2 separate regions of the Homo sapiens genome follow, and region 2 is linked to region 1. Evidence: promoter capture Hi-C in human tissues and cell types (Jung and others, 2019). All regions are on one chromosome and are shown on one strand. Each heading gives the region's core, a stretch centred on a gene start or on the middle of the fragment in contact. The rest is flanking DNA. Distances are from core to core; before and after follow the strand shown. Region 1 holds the start of ATP6V1C1 (ATPase H+ transporting V1 subunit C1). Region 2 overlaps MAILR (macrophage interferon regulatory lncRNA).

Region 1 (2,700 bases), core at 19-2,518:
TGGCAGAAAGTTTTAGTGGACCTAACCAAAAAAAAAATGCCTTTAGGCTCATTTCGTGATGGCAGATAAAAGCCTCTGGAATTCTGATAAGTTTCTGAAGCCATGTTATAGAACTGGTTATTGTAATTGCATGAACTTCATCCAAAACTGGTGAAAGCGTCAGGTTGGGGATAGTCTGGTGGTTGTTACTTTCTGTCCAACCTAATACTGAGGCTCTGAGAAATTCTGTGGTGAATTTCTGTAGGGGGACACAGCAGAAAAGGCATAGTATAGGTCAGAAAACCTGGGTCCTATAATACATAGTAATAATGACGACCATTTACTGGTTGTTTCCTATGTACCAGGCACTGTGCTAACCACAGGCTTCATTTAATCCTCACAATACCTGTGTAAGGTATTATTACCACCACTTTGCATGTGAACAGGCTGAAATTCAGAGGAGTAAGGTCACACAACTAGTAAGTAGGAGAGCCTGGATTCAACACCTGGTATCTATTCCCTTGCGCTGAACAACTCCGTGCCCTCACTTTCTTCATCTGTAGATCTAAAAGGATTAAATTAGAACATCTCAAAATTTCTACTACTTCTAAAACTCTGTGTTCTAAATTAGGACATTACTATCTATCTCCCCAAGCTAATGAAATAAGCAGGGTTCCTGGGAGGAGCTTGTTACCTATTTTTCTCCAAAGGAGATGCTTTCCCCTGTCTATGCCTCTGTCCTAAAACCTTTGGTTTCCCACTATCTAATGTGGTTTCAACTATCTATGAGGCGCTTTCGTGGCAAGGAGTGATTCTCTCCAGTAGGCAATCCTAAGAACGAGCGCAGTGCTTGGCGCACAGTAAATGCTCCATGGACCATTTATGAAATTAAGTCTAAGTGGACTTCAGGAAAATGTGAATCTGCTAAAATGAACTACTAGCCAGTATACTAGGTAGAAAACCCAGCTGACGAAGAAAACCCCAAGTGGAGAAGCCCTTGTAGGGGGTTGGAGACAATTTCTGACCCGCAGAAACCTGCAGTGGCGCTGACGTTTACAAGTGGTGGACAAAACGCCACTTGCAACACTGGAAGAAGCGGAAAACCCCACCCACTCTGGAACAACAGCGATCAGCCCCGAATATAGGGTCCCCTTGCCGCCCCGTAGCCTCCTAGTCCCGCCCCTCTCCCAAGGCCCGGCAGTGGCAGCGGCTGCGGCTGCGCAGTGGCGCGGGCGTAGGCGGAGCAGCGCGCGCCGCGGTCAGCTGACTGCTGGGCTGGCACGTGACTTGTTCTGTGTTCGCTTGGGTAGAGGAAGCCGTGAGGCCGGAGCTTAGGTCGGGAAGGGATGGATCGCTGAGCCGATAGCGTCCGCTAGGCTGTCTGCCTCGGTACCTGTTACTGCTGCTACTTCCTCGTTTGACACCTTCCTGGGTCAGTGAGCGATGGCTCTCCCCGGATGGGGAGTCCTGGTCAGGCCGAAGCATGAGCTCCGGTCGCTGCCTGGGAGGGACGCGGGTGGGTGCGGGGGCAGAGACCGTGGCGTTGGAGCTGGAGCTGGCTGGGTGGCTGTGTCTGGTTTCTCGGCGCCAATTCACCGTCTTGGGCCTAGGTTCCGTCTCTAAGGAAGAGAAGGAGGGAAAAAGAGAAAGAGCTCTCGTGGGTAGTTAATGACAGGCAGAAAGGAGAGATACAGCGGTCTGGGATCTTTCTTCTTGGGTAGGAATGCACGCCGCCTGATTGATTGAGGGGAATGAAGTGATAGGTCCAGGTGAGGCTATGGAGTGGTGTGTGTGAGGTCACAGCTAGCGCAAGTGCCTTCACTGGGTGTGTGTTGGGGGGGGCGCGGGTGTCGGGGGTCGGGGGTGGTGGGATGACAGTTTAAAGGCCTAGGAGCCCCTAACTGCAGGCAAGGAACCCTCACAGAGTACACAAGGTCCCTCTAGGAATGAGAAAGAACAGGAATCCAGAGAACTCAACTATTTTTTAGTAGAATGGGGGAGGGTAGGCAAACAAAACAGAACAAAACAAAACAAACCCCTAGAAAAGAACTTGGTGAGAGTCACATAAGGCATATTGAATCACTTGAGAAACAGGAGTAAGGGGGAAGCTAGTATTCTTTTCAGAGGAAAATTCTGGTATGTTAGGGAAAAATCACATGCTTCAGTGCGAGCCCAGTACTTAGCGCCGCTCTGGGAATGGAACGGGTGGGATGTGAACAGTCTATCCTTAGGAGTTAGCACTAACGTTGGAGAGAAAAGTCTACACACAGGACACGTTAAAATACGATGCAGTTTATGTATACTTACCAAAAAGAGAATGCGAAGTGCTTTGAAAGTGTGGAGCAACGACACATGTGTAAACTGGCACTATGGGAAGATATTCTGGAGGAAAGAAAACTTGAGTCTTGGCAAGCCCTCAGGATTTGAACAGGTTGAGAGAAATGGGGATAATTTTACAGGCAGGGAAAGCCACAGGATTTGAAAGCCTGAAGATGGGGGTAGGGAATGCTTCTGGTGGAGTCAGAAGTAGCTTTTACAGTGGATTGCACTGCGGAGAAGTGGGAAAGAAAGTTGGGAGTCAGGTAACGAGGACTTTTGAATGGTAGTCGTTTACTTATTCATGCAAATAATGTGTACTGAATACATGCTGTATGCAGGTACAGTGCTGATGGTAGGGTTTAGAAAATTGTCTTTATAGAGCTTACAGGCAAGCAGAGGGGA
Region 2 (2,700 bases), core at 91-2,590, 61 kb before region 1:
GGTAGCTTTTTAAGCTCCCCAGGTGATTCTAATAGCCAAAGTTGAGTGTCGCTGGTATAGCGATTTTACTATTGTTATCATGTTTCAGATGTACCAAAAAAAATCCTGTTTTTGGGCCAGGCACGGTGGCTCACGCCTGTAATCCCAACACTTTGGGAGGCCAAGGCAGGTGGATCACAAGGTCAGGAGATCAAGACCATCCTGGCTAACACTGAGAAACCCCGTCTCTATTAAAAATACAAAAAATTAGCCGGGCTTGGTGGCACGTGCCTGTAGTCCCAGCTACTCGGGAGGCTGAGGCAGGAGAATGGCATGAACCCAGGAGGCGGAGGTTGTAGTGAGTTGAGATTGCACCACTGCACTCCAGCCTGGGCGACAGAGTGAGACTTTGTCTCCTCAAAAAAAAAAAAAAAAAAAAAATCCTGTTTTTGTATCTTGTTAAAGTCAGGCAATGTTTCCTATGCATTGTCATTGATAGAGTAGCCCTGTGCTGAGTATCTTAATGTTTCAAGCACCAATAGCAGGATTCGAGAGAAGTTGCCTACCCATGAAAGAAACCTAGACACAGGCCAGGGACAGCATGCCCCTTAATGCTGTGCTTGACTATGCTCAGGACAGTGGCAAACCTGACACTTGGTATTATTTCTCCAGGGTTCTACATGCGCAGGAAAACCTACACTGACATTTTATTTTATTATTTATTTATTTTTTTGAGACAGAGTCTTGCTTTGTCACCCAGGCTGGAGTGTAGTGGAGCGATCTCGGCTCACTGCAACCTCAGCCTCCTGGGTTCAAGCAATTCTCCTGCCTCAGCCTCCCAAGTAACTGGGATTACACGCACCTCCACCACACCTGGCTAATTTTTGTATTTTTAGTAGAGATGGGGTGTTGCCATGTTGGCCAGGCTGGTCTCAAACTCCTGACCTCAGGTGGTCCACCGGCCTCAGCCTCCCAAAGTGCCGGGATTACAGGCATGAGCCACCACACCCAGCCTACAGTAACATTTTAAACAGGACCTTTTTTCCCTGCCGGTAGATTTCAAGAAGTAGGTCATTGGATAGGTAGGTTTGACTTTTTCTCTTGGCCCACAAATCCATGACAATGGCACTAATAAGTTAGGCAACAGATATCTACTGATAGTGGTGCCCAGCAGTTAAGGGAGGAGCTGGAGAAGAAGCCCAAGGCCTCCAGGTTTTGACCAATGAGAAAAGGCATCCATAAATGGGATAGTTAACAAACAGTGCAGGGCAGAGTATAATCAAGGTTCCTGTGGTGGTAAGATCAGCAAGGACTGCAGAAATTCAGAGGAAGGAAAAATCAGTGCCCGCTGGAATAGGACAGAGAAGCTTTGCAACAAAGATGGTGGATGGAGGGGGTAAGGAGGGTCTTGGAGGAGGTAAACAATTTATATAATGTTCTTATCACTATTTAATACGTAGAATACTATTTATTACATTTACCAGGCATTGTGCTGATTTCCATGTATTGTCTTATTTACTCCACTCAACATCATAAGGTAAAGACTACAATTATCCCCATTCTGTAGAAGATGATTACTGAGGCGCAGAGAAGTTAAATAACTTGCCCAAGGTCACAATGCAGGCAAGTGACAGAGGAGGGTTTGAACCTGGTCTGTGTGCCTCCCAAGGCCATGCATATACTATACTATACTATACTATACTATACTGTACTGTACTGTACTGTACTGTACTGTACTTTGCTGTGCTGTGCTGTGCTGTGCTGTACTATACTATACTATACTATACTATACTATACTATACTATACTATACTATACTATACTGAATATCCACCATACTATGTTGAATATCCACTTAACACTTATCAAATGTGTGCCTGCAGGCACTTCCCTAACATTCTACATTATCCCATTTAATCCTCAAGACAACACTTTCAGGTAGGCAGTGCAATTATTTTCAAGTTCTGGATAAGGAAATGTGGGCCTAGAGGGGTAAAGTAACTTGCCTGAGGTCTAGGTTGCCAGGTAAAATACTAGACACCCAGATAAATGTAATAAATAATAAATAATCTCTTAGTAGAAATATTGCATGGGATGTACTCATACTAAAATTCATTGTTTATCTGCCATTCAGATTTAAATAGGTATCCAGTTTGCATTTGTTTGTTTTTGCTAAATTTGGCAATCTTACCAAGGTCACCCTGCAAAGCGAGGTTTGAATCAGGTGGTCTGACTGAGGGCCCACACTCATAACCACCGCATTCCAGATTGGCTGGAGAAGAAGGGTCAGCGCTAATACCAGCATGTGTGGGAGGAAGTGAGTGGACCTTTCCTCCTAGGATTTGCGCTTAGATTGAGGAAACCTGAGAAGGAGCAATGGATTCCTTCCCTCCCCTCCCCTGCTCTCCCCAGCTCCCTTGATACTGCGGCTACACCCACCTGCTGGTGGCGATAGAGTTAAAGGCCCTGGGCTATGCAGTCCCAGCCTTTAGTAACAAGTGCTTGGTTCTGACACCAAGAACAGAAGGAAGAGGAAAACAGGAAAAAATGAGTCAGTATGGGATCTGCAGACACTATCACATGCACATCTTCCTGTATAAATTGCAGGACCTCCCACGGGTAGATGCCTGTACCTACAAAACGATCACAGAAACCTGCAGCAAAACCACAGCAGCTGCACTTATGTGACCATCTTGTGGGCTGCTATTAGCAAGGGAACTAG

What was found. The method cuts DNA at HindIII sites, captures the fragments that hold promoters and counts their contacts. A contact is called where the count stands out against the background at its distance.
Region 2: a fragment that was not itself captured here is called in contact with the fragment with the promoter of ATP6V1C1 in region 1 in 1 of the 25 tissues and cell types used here (IMR-90 fibroblasts).

Annotation. Positions count from the first base shown.
Region 1 is chr8:103,019,815-103,022,514 of GRCh38, forward strand. ATP6V1C1 (ATPase H+ transporting V1 subunit C1) reads left to right here and starts at 1,269. Exons shown (of 13, transcript NM_001695.5): 1 at 1,269-1,411. RefSeq lists an enhancer at 1,499-1,708. The HindIII fragment of the contact is 15,691 bases long and covers 1-2,700 here.
Region 2 is chr8:102,959,144-102,961,843 of GRCh38, forward strand. The region is part of intron 2 of MAILR (macrophage interferon regulatory lncRNA); the gene reads left to right. Among named protein-coding and RNA genes, the nearest start is that of ATP6V1C1, 61 kb to the right of the region's middle. RefSeq lists silencers at 2,598-2,647, 2,668-2,700. The HindIII fragment of the contact is 3,673 bases long and covers 1-2,700 here.